Linked DNA regions of Homo sapiens: all the other regions are linked to region 1. Evidence: promoter capture Hi-C in 16 types of primary human blood cells and fetal thymus (Javierre and others, 2016). All regions are on one chromosome and are shown on one strand. The core of a region is centred on a gene start or on the middle of the fragment in contact, and the rest is flanking DNA. Distances in the headings are between cores, read along the strand shown.

What was found. Contacts are between HindIII fragments. The CHiCAGO score rates a contact against its expected background, and 5 or more counts as called.
Region 2: a fragment that was not itself captured here is called in contact with the fragment with the promoter of BCAR1 in region 1 in 1 of 17 cell types (M1 macrophages); the score reaches 5.6 in M1 macrophages.
Region 3: a contact is called between a fragment that was not itself captured here and the fragment with the promoter of BCAR1 in region 1, in 3 of 17 cell types (M1 macrophages, endothelial precursors and M2 macrophages). The highest score is 9.3, in M1 macrophages.

What each region holds. Positions count from the first base shown.
Region 1 is chr16:75,250,148-75,253,511 of GRCh38, forward strand. It overlaps BCAR1 (BCAR1 scaffold protein, Cas family member), which reads right to left and starts at 1,477. Exons shown (of 7, transcript NM_014567.5): 1 at 1,324-1,477. The coding sequence starts at 1,335. RefSeq lists silencers at 1,360-1,519, 1,580-1,689 and enhancers at 1,689-2,229, 2,770-3,310, 3,311-3,364. The HindIII fragment of the contact is 27,287 bases long and covers 1-3,364 here.
Region 2 is chr16:75,454,494-75,457,857 of GRCh38, forward strand. All of the region lies in intron 1 of TMEM170A (transmembrane protein 170A), which reads right to left. Among named protein-coding and RNA genes, the nearest start is that of TMEM170A, 8.5 kb to the right of the region's middle. RefSeq lists an enhancer at 1,962-2,463. The HindIII fragment of the contact is 244 bases long and covers 1,438-1,681 here.
Region 3 is chr16:75,390,886-75,394,249 of GRCh38, forward strand. The region is part of intron 5 of CFDP1 (craniofacial development protein 1); the gene reads right to left. Among named protein-coding and RNA genes, the nearest start is that of CFDP1, 41 kb to the right of the region's middle. The HindIII fragment of the contact is 5,149 bases long and covers 1-3,364 here.

The sequences.
Region 1 (3,364 bases), core at 227-2,726:
CCTGCCCCAGCCCAAGGTGACTTTCCTGGCAGAACCTGGGACTGCCCTGCCCTGCCCTGCCTCCACCCAGCTCCCGGGCAAGCAGTGCCAGGAGGAAGTGTCAGCAGCTCCTCCCCAAAGCTCTTTTCCCCACAGCCCCGCCACCCCCGTACCTGGGCCCCGATTCTCCAGGCACCCCGACACCTGCTCTCACAGGCCGGCCAGCCCCCACCACCCAACTCTCCACCGAGGGAAAGGAATGGGCACAAGAGGGGGCGTGTCCCGGCCCAGGGCGATGGGAAACATCTCACTAGCAAAGAAGAGATCAACCCATGGTCATTCTGAGAAGGTGACCAAAGCTGCGGCGGGCCCCGGGAGGGGTGTGGGAAAGGAAACCAGGGACTCTCAGGAGGGAACGGGAGCCTTGTGGTAGAAAAGGAGCTGCTGTCCCCGATCTGGAACTCGAAACCCCAACATCTTCCAGGCCGTAAGCCCCTCACCCCGCACCCCTAGGCAAATCTCCGCTTTCCCAACTCCCTCACCTCGGTCCAGCGATCAGCCTCTCGGACCCTCGAGAGGGAGCTCCGACCCTGCTCTAGCTCTTGCGGGTCCCCCAACCATGGACTCCAAAGCCTTCATGTCCACACTGCAGAACCCGGCCCTGGCCCCCTCCCGCGACACTCGCGTGCGGCTAGGACTCCTGTGGCCAGGACCCGGCTTCCACCGGCGCTCGGCGTGCGGGGCTGCAAAGCCCGCGGCGCGCCCGCCCCCACTCCCGCTCCGCTCCCGGAACCCCGCGCCGGCGGCCGGAGTGAATCATTAACTGGAGCCGGGTGCTCCGGCTGCGCAGCCTTCCCCGCTGGCGCCACGCACTTGCCCGCCCGGCCTCGGTCCCCCGGAGCTCCTCCCTCTCCGGGAGCCGGTGGGCAGTCCCCACGCCACACCAGCCGGACCACCCGCCAGAGGCTCAACGGCCCCTCCTCGCAGCCGAGGAAACTGAGGCTCGGAGGCAGGGCGCAGAGGCCCAAGGTGACACAGCAGGCGGCCGTCGGCCGGGGAGCGCGGGCCCCGCCAGCCACTTTCCCGACACAGGAACCCTCCTACCGGCTGGCGGCCCCCGCGCCCGGCCCCGCCAACGCACCCGAGGCGCACAGGCTCCGGAGCCCCCGCGGTTCCTGCCTCCCGGCTTCCCGGCCAGGGCAGAAGGAGATCCCAGGGCCGCGGACCCCGGCCGGCGGTTCCCAGGCCCCGCAGGTCCGGCAGGAAATGCCGCTCGCTTAACCCCTTCCAGCCCGCTGCCGCCTCCAAGCCCGTACGCGGCCCGGCCCCACCTGGCGCCCTCACCAGGTGGTTCATGGTGTCCGGCGGGCCTGGGGCCCCGGCTCTCGCGGGGGCGCACACCGAGCTGCCCGGGCCGCGTGCCCTCGGGGCTCCGAGCGCGCCGCAGCCGCCCCGGTGCCGCCGCGCAGCTGCCGCCTCGGCCACCCAGAGCCGGTCCAGCCGCTCTCCGCCTGCCGCCACGGCCCAGCCGGCCCAGCCCGATCCCAGCATGCCCGGCCGCGCGCGCCCATTGGCCGCCGCCGCTCTCCATGCAAATAAGCCGCCTGTCGGGGGCGCGGGCGCGCAGACAGAAGCCCGCCCAGTAGGGGCCGCCCCCCGCCCCGCCCCCCACCTCCAACCCCGAGGCTCCAGGCCCCTGCCCGAGGCCAGGCTTCCAGCCTAGGGCGCAGGACACCGCTCTCCAACAAATGCACGTCCCCGCCTTCCACCCAGGCGAGAACGCACCGAAGGCCTACGCAAACTCCTCCACTTCTGGGAAGGCTGCCCGGTTTGCCTTCTTCCTCCAGAGCCGAGACATGGCCTCAAGTCGACTTGTCTTTCCCGCTAACCAACCCCAGGGCATTCATCGCGTGTCCATGGGCCGTGGGACTCAAATCTGAATCTAGAGGGAAAGGGGAGGGGGCGTGCCCCAGCCTGTAGGAGACGAATCATCACCACCACAGCTCCGACTGTAGACGGTCCCACCGTGTAAGGACCCCAGGAAATGAAGCCTCAAGCAGGGAGGCTGGCGAGCTCTCGACCCAGCGCTTTTCACGGGCAGCACCTACCTTCCCCTGCATTGTGCCGACATCTGGGGACTCGGGCTGGTCCTCCAGCTGATCTGCCTCCTCTCATTACTCATTCCTAGGTTCAGCCTAAAACCTGGGCCTAGTACCCTCCTGAGTCCTGCTCCAACTCATCTGCTTCAGCGACATGGGGTAGGAGAGCGGCACTGGGGGAATGAGGGAGATAGAAGGAAGAATCACTCGGGGGAAACCGAGTGGAGACAACCTTGGCTCTCCTGAGTTGCCCCTTGCTCGGTTGCAGGTCAGTGACTGTCACCCCATGCAGCAGAACCAGGGTGCCAGAGCCCCTGGGCCAGGCCAGGGAGGCACAATCTGCAGGGAGATGATAGGACCGAGCCTGGTCCAGACCAGACAGGACCCTCAGTCAACAATCCTGGGCCACTGGCTGAGCAATGGGATGCCACGAGGCAGCCCTGGTGGCAGGGAAGCAGCGGGGTAGACCCGGCTTCACGCAGCAGAGAATTCTCAAGCATGGCCTATGGAAGACACAAGCCCAGGTGGGCCTGCAGCTGCCCCTCTGTCTGACCCCCAGGGCTCAGCCTACGCAGCGCCTGGCCAGATGTGCCACCTTGGCAGGCCCTCTCCCCTCTCTGGGCTCCTTTCTCATCTGAAAAGGGGCTAGGACAGCCCATGATTTGCTGCTCAGGTGCTCTGGGGAGCTAGTTAAAAAACAGACTCCTGTGTCCCACCCCTCCCAAAAAACTGGACGTCTGCATTTCTTCAATATTTGGCTTGGGAAGCATTGGCCAGAACTCACAGCACAGCGGGTGAGGAAGGAGCAGTGGGATGAGACAGAGCATGACCCAGAGTCCTCAGGAGGAACAGAACAGCTAGCCAACACCCTGTGCCTCCCCGACACAGCCCGCCTCGCCTCAGAAGAGGAGCCAGCCTTCAGGGAAGCTGCCTGGAGCATCTCCTCCTGCTTGTTCCCAAGAGCTGTGCCGGGCCCCTCCTGCACCCTGACCCTGTCCAGCCACCCACTCCTCAGCCTGGCTGGCACACCAGCTTCCCAGAGAGCAGGTCTGAACCAGCGGGACCCTCAGGAGCCTGAGGTCATCCCTGGGCCTCCACTTCTGTGGGGAGGGGAGACCAGGCCTCATGGGCAGGCAGTGCCCTGCTGGCAGGGCCCCAGGCAGCAGTCTCTGCAGGGACGGGCAAGGACACAAAAGGCCTGGCCCTCAAGGGAGCTGGCCCCTGCTCCATCCTAGTTGGCCAAGGAGGGCGGTGCAGAGAGGAGGTGGATGGCTGGAACCTTGGGG
Region 2 (3,364 bases), core at 310-2,809, 200 kb after region 1:
GCATGGTGGCAGGCACCTGTAGTCCCAGCTACTTGGGAGGCTGAGGCAGGAGAATCGCTTGAACCCAGGAGGCAGAGGTTGCAGTGAGCTCAGATCACACCACTGCACTCCAGCCTGGGAGACAGAATGACACTCCGTCTCAAAAAAATAAAAGAGCAATGACAGTTAAAGCTATAAAGACAGATGAGGGAAACCCTTTGGGGAATTTGACACCAGACTAAGGACTTCACAAAAGATCTAAAGTGCCAGTATAGGTTTTGAGCAGTAACGGTTGTCATGACATTATTCCACAGGCCCCACCTGACACTCCTAGTTGGAATACAAACTGGAAAACCACCTTTTTGCAGGGTAATTTGGAAGTCAAATGTGCATGGCCCTTGCTGCAACAATTTTACTTCCGGGGATACACCCCACAGAAAAGCATAGGTAGGCAAGGACAGAGGTAACAAGAAGGTCCCAACAGCATTGTCCATAATATCAAAAACTAGAAGTCACCTGCATGGCTATCACTGCAGAATTTGGAAAACACATTCTGTGCACCCACGTAATACTACAAAGTCCCATTAAAATATGCAATAGATGGGCTGGGCACAGTGGCTCACGCCTGTAATCCCAGCACTCTGGGAGGCTGAGGCAGGCAGATCACGAGGTCAGAAGATTGAGACCATCCTGGCTAACACGGTAAAACCCCGTCTCTACTAAAAATACAAAGAATTAGCTGGGCAAGGCAGCGGGCACCTGTAGTCCCAGCTACTTGGGAGGCTGAGGCAGGAGAATAGTGTGAACTCGGGAGGCGGAGCTTGCAGTGAGCCGAGATCACGCCACTGCACTCCAGCCTGGGTGACAGAGCGAGACACTGTCTCAAAAAAAAAAAAAAAAATGCAATAGATGTATATATACTGAAGGGGCAAGATGCCCAAGCCACATTGTGAAGTAACAAAAGCCAGTTGCATGTAGAATAAGATCCTGTTTTTGAGAAAACAAACACAATAAACACTCATGTGGAAATGCTTCTATGTACTGAGCATGTTTATTTAATAAATAATTATTAGATAGGCCAGGCATGGTGCTCGTGCCTGTAATCCCACCACTTGAAGCCAGGAGTTGAAGACCAGCCTAGCCAACATGGTGAAACACTGTCTCTCCTAAAAATACGTAAAAATTAGCCGGGCGTGGTGGCAAATGCCTGTAATCCCAGCTACTCAGGAGGCTGAAGCCCGAGAATCGCTTGAACCCAGGAGGCAGAGGTCGCAATGAGCCGAGGGCAAGAGAGCTAGACTTTAAAAAGAAAAACAAGGTAAGAAAAAACAAAGCTTTTGTTTTCACAAGAACTGCTCAGGAAGAATGAGCTTATTGGGATAAACAATTTAAAAGAGACCAGTCAGGGGCATCAATCCGCTTGAGGGGATTAGAAAGGGGGAGGAGAGGAGGACCAGAAGCTTTACTGAAGCTGTATTAGCACTGTAAGCACACTGTTAGTGTGTGTGTTTTTTCCCCCAGATCAATGAAAACCACAGTTTTATGAAGGTATTTTTATTCCCTTTACACAGGCTTCTTAATCTTGTTGAGAAGCTGGATTTAAGGGGCTATTGGAGATAGGGGTGGAGCCAAATCCCCTTAACCCACCCTTGACATTGTCACAGATGACTGCTCAAATTCTTTGCCCATTTTGAGTTAATAAAGCTTCAATTCAGAGCATATTCTGAACACTTCCAGTGAGAGTGCTCAGGTCTTGTTTTGGATAAATGGTTCTCGGTGAAAACATCAAGGATGCCCCAATTAGGTCTCAATGCTTATTAAAAATAACAAATGAGGCCGGGCACAGTGGGTCACATCTGTAATACCAGCACTTTGGAGGCTGAGGCGGGTGGATCATCTGAGGTTAGGAGTTCCAGAACAGCCAGGCCAACACGGCGAAACCGTCTCGACCAAAAAATATAAAAATTAGCTAGGTGGGGTGGCGCAAGCCTGTAATCCTGGCGACTCAGGAGTCTTCCTCCACCAATGAAAAAAGTCAGCCTTAGTCAATAGTGTCAATCAGAAATTGAGGGCAGGATTCTTGGTCCTCAGGGTTTCAGCCCCCACCTCTTCCACAACAAACCCATATCCTCCTGCAGTTTCTCTTCTAGCCGCCATTAGGCCAGGAGCTATTCCTGCCTTTCGCTGCCCAGAGACGCACCCTCCCTGGCTGGCAGCAACTCCAGAGGGAGCAGTGCCTGCATCTGGATACTGCTCCTCCCTAACAAATGTGCACCTGCCAGAGCTCTGGTGCCCACACAAATCTCTCCTGCCTGGGCAGCTACTGTGGCCCCTGGATCAGTCAAGAGTGGCCTGGCCTCCCAGCTGAGGCCCCCTGTCCACCACCCACCGCCAGCTCATCCCCAAGCCCCCACACAGCACCATGCTTCTCTTCCAAAGCAGAAAGACCATCTTCTATCCCGAGTCCTCACGTGCCACTCCCAAATCAATCTGATCCTGACTACCCCAACACCTAGTCTACAGAAAATTCTATGATGGCATCAGGAATTCACTGGTCCAAAGTGGACAAATGGGATGCAAACCTGCCTCCAAGAACTCAGAACAATCTTCACCTGGCTGCTGTCTGCCCCATACTGACCTGAGATCAGCCCTGGGTCCCTGCTATCCAGGGCTTCTGCTGGAGCTGCCAGAGTTTTAGAGAGAAGCTCTGCTTTCTGCAGTAACTCAAGGCACTGCTGGAGCCTGGCTTCCTACCAGCTGCCACAGAACCACTGAGGCCTTGAACTGGGAGGCAAAGCCTTAATATCCCAGAAACACACGAAGCTGGTAATTTCCAGGAAAGCAGGTTGGAACACAGGTATGCCATCCAAGTGCTAAGGGCTGAATTATGTGCCCCTACTATTCCTGTGTTAAACCCTACAGGACTGTGGTCTTAGGAGAGGAAGAGATTCTCAATCTCTTGATACCTCTCTCTCTCTGCCATGTGAAGACATGGTGAGAAGGCAGCCATCTGCAAGTCAGGAAGAGGGTCTTCACCAGAACCCAACCATCCTGGCACCCTAATCCCAGCCTTCCAGCCTCCAGAACTGAGGAGATAATGTCTGTTATTTAAGACAGCTAGTCTGTGGTATTTTGTTATGGCGGCCCATGCTGAGACAAAAATGTCACCCATCCCCACTTCCCTAGGAGCACAGCCCCTGCCCCAGGAGGCCTGCTAAGTCACCAACCCACATCTCAATTTTCCAAAAAGCTTAAAGGCCAATTTGTAAACAGCGTCCGGCATACACAGCAGGCCAACACCTCTCTGAGGTTCTGAGAAAGGGAGGAGGCACACCGCACCCCCTACAACCCTGAGCCACATCCATTAGCTCCTTCACTATGTATT
Region 3 (3,364 bases), core at 330-2,829, 140 kb after region 1:
AGGCCACACCAATATTTGTATCCCTGTGGTTTTCCACCACTTTGTGAGAAAGTATCATATTTGAGAATGCCATCTGTTTCCTGCTGGATCTCCCTAATGCAGATATCATCTCAGCAGATTTCTTATTCTAAAAAGCATATTAGCTGTAAGAAAGGCAGGCATGGATATGACAAGCAGTGAGATTTCTACATGAGTGACTTAAGCTGATTTTAAGCTGCCATTTCTCCATTCTTTAGTTATTTTCATAATTATAGTAGCAAAGAGTATTTTCTGAAACATACAGTTTCCAAGTAGAATCTCTAAGCATCAACAGGGATTATTTTAAGAAGAAATATCCAAGGAAACTAGAAGTAAAAACTGTGTTAGCTGAAACTAACCAGAAACCTAAGAAGAGCTTCTTTGCCTTTATTTCCATCTGGTGGTTATATCCAGAGGTAACTTCATAGCAATACTTTCAATAAGTGCAAGAAACACTAATAATACCACATACAAACCTGGCAACTCTTAATCACCTGCTGAAGGCTAATTCCATACGTTGTCTAGAGCAGTATTTTGTCAAATTCAGGTTGCAGTTGATTGTGAAATCAATTCAGCAGGTCATAACAGTTTTTTAAATGACACATCTATACACAATAATGTAAAACAGAAAATCAGAGCATATTATACATAGTAAGGGTAAATATTTCACCAAATTTTAATCTCACCTTTTTACATACCTATTTTTATAGGTGTACAAGGGCATAATGTAAAATGTATTCCTTATGATGGGCGGCAGTCAAGAAAGTTTGAAAGCTACTGGTCTGGGTGGCCAGGTGTGGTGGCTCACACCTGTAATGCCAGCACTTTGGGAGGCTGAGGCAGGTGGCCGAGGTCAGGAGTTCAAGACCAGCCTGGACAACATGGTGAAACCCCGTCTCTACTAAAAATACAAAAATCAGCCAGGTGTGGTGGCGGGCGCCTGTAATCCCAGCTACTCGGGAGGCTGAGGCAGGGAACTGCTTGAACCCAGGAGGTGGAGCTTGCAGTGAGCCGAGATCGCGCCACTGCACTCCAGCCTGGACGACAGAGCAAGACTCCGTCTCAAAAAAATAAAAAATAAATAAATAAATAAATAAAGCTACTGGTCTGAAGAGAACTCCCTGCAAACAATACAATAAATGTAAAGCCAAAAACATGTTGTTTCAGCCTATAGCTTCAAATTTTAAAAATCCTAATCTTCATTAAAAATACAGCTTGTTGGATGGGTGCAGTGGCTCATGCCTGTAATGCCAGCACTTTGGGAGGCTGAAGGGGGTGGATCACGAAGTCAGGAGTTCAAGACTAGCCTGGCCAACATAGTGAAACCCCATCTCTACTAAAAATACAAAAAATTAGCCAGGCGTGGCAGCACGTGCCTGTAATCCCAGCTACTCTGGAGGCTGACGCAGGAGAATGGCTTGAACCCAGGAGGCAAAGGTTGCAGTGAGCCAAGATTGCACCACTGCACTCCAGCCCAGGAAACAGTGCGAGACTCCAACTTGAAAACAAAAACAAAACAAAGCAACAAAAAAAAACAGCTTGTTACCAGGTATAAGCATATAAGTAACTGAAATAAAAATTCTATAAAACATTATTTATTCTTTATTCTTTTGAGACAAGGTCTCCCTCTGTCGCCCAGGCGGGAGTGCAGTGGTGCAATCTCAGCTCACTTCGACCTCTGCCTCCTGGGTTCAAGCGATTCTGCTGCCTCAGCCTCCTAGGTAGCTGGGATTAAGGGCATGTGCCACCAAGCCCAGCTAATTTTTGCATTTTGAGTAGGCATGGGGTTTCACCATGTTGGCCAGGCTGGAAAACAGTATTTACTCCTACTACATGTGATGTGCTCTGATATTTTCTCTTAATTGATTATTCCAAACCACAGCTTACAAAGTACTTGCTTAGAGTATTAACAGGGCCAGGTCTGTAGAATTTTGTTCTACAGCTGCCTTCATCTGATTTTATGTCATTTCTACTGTGGTAGCAAGCAGTCAAATCCTCTTCCTCCATAGGTTTCTGTGTAACTACTACATGACTTCTGCTCAGTGGGAGAGAAATATCTTGAGTATGAAGTAGATAAAGATGTAACAGATGAGGAAGTAGCCCCATCCACATGTCCTGGCATTCAGTGCCATGATACATGCTGAGAGCAGCATCTTACAGCAAGCACGTGCAGCTCACAGCCTGAGGACAGAGGGCAAGGAATGTGTGGAAGCAGCTCTGAGCCAATGTCCGATGGGCACTGGAGGCTAAACATCCCACTCTCCTCAGCCCTCACTGTGTTCTTCCCAATCTCTAAGTTTCCCAGCAGGAATGAGTGCCAGTCACCACCAGCAGTCACCTGCTTGATAACTCAACCTTTACTGGCTTCTTTCCTCTCTTGTACCTCTCTATTGGGGCTTCCTGGAATCACCTCTCACATAAATGACATGCACTTAAACCTTTATCTCAGGGTCTATTTCTGGGTAAATGCAACCTAAGAGAGTATACTAGTATAACTCTGTTGTTAAGAGCCAGGGCTGCAAAGATGGGGAAGGCCCACCCTAAAAAAGCTCACACTTTTTTAGGAAAATCAACACTCTTTTTAAAAATGTGGGGCCGGGGGTGGATCATGAGGTCAGGAGATCGAGACCATCCTGGCTAACAAGGTGAAACCCCGTCTCTACTAAAAATACAAAAAATTAGCCGGGCGCGGTGGCGGGCGCCTGTAGTCCCAGCTACTCGGGAGGCTGAGGCAGGAGAAGGGCGTGAACCCGGGAAGCGGAGCTTGCAGTGAGCCGAGATTGCGCCACTGCAGTCCGCAGTCCGGCCTGGGCGACAGAGCGAGACTCCGTCGCAAAAAAAAAAAAAAAAAAAAAAAAAAAAAAAAAAAAGTGGGGCCGGGCCCGGTGGCTCACGCCTGTAATCCTAGCACTTTGGGAAGCCAAGGAGGGCAGATCACGAGGTCAGGAGATCAAGACCATCCTGGCTAACACAGTGAAACCTCGTCTCTACTAAAAATACAAAAGATTAGACGGGCGTGTTGGCACCTGTAGTCCCAGCTACTCAGGAGGCTGAGGCAGAAGAATGACATGAACCCGGGAGGCGGAGCTTGCAGTGAGCCGAGATTGCGCCACTGCACTGCAGCCTGGGTGACAGAGCGAGACTCCACCTCAAAAAAAAAATGTGAAACAAAACTTTACTGCTCATAGCAATGACAGGTATGCTCCAGGAGGGAAGGAAGAGGGGACAATATCTGACTGAAGGGCCACAGAAGCCACTGTAGGAGACTATGCAGAACTCCCCACAGGAGTCAGGTGGGTAGTCAGGGCTATCCATGGTATGGGTCTATGTTCACTTCCCTGTGGCA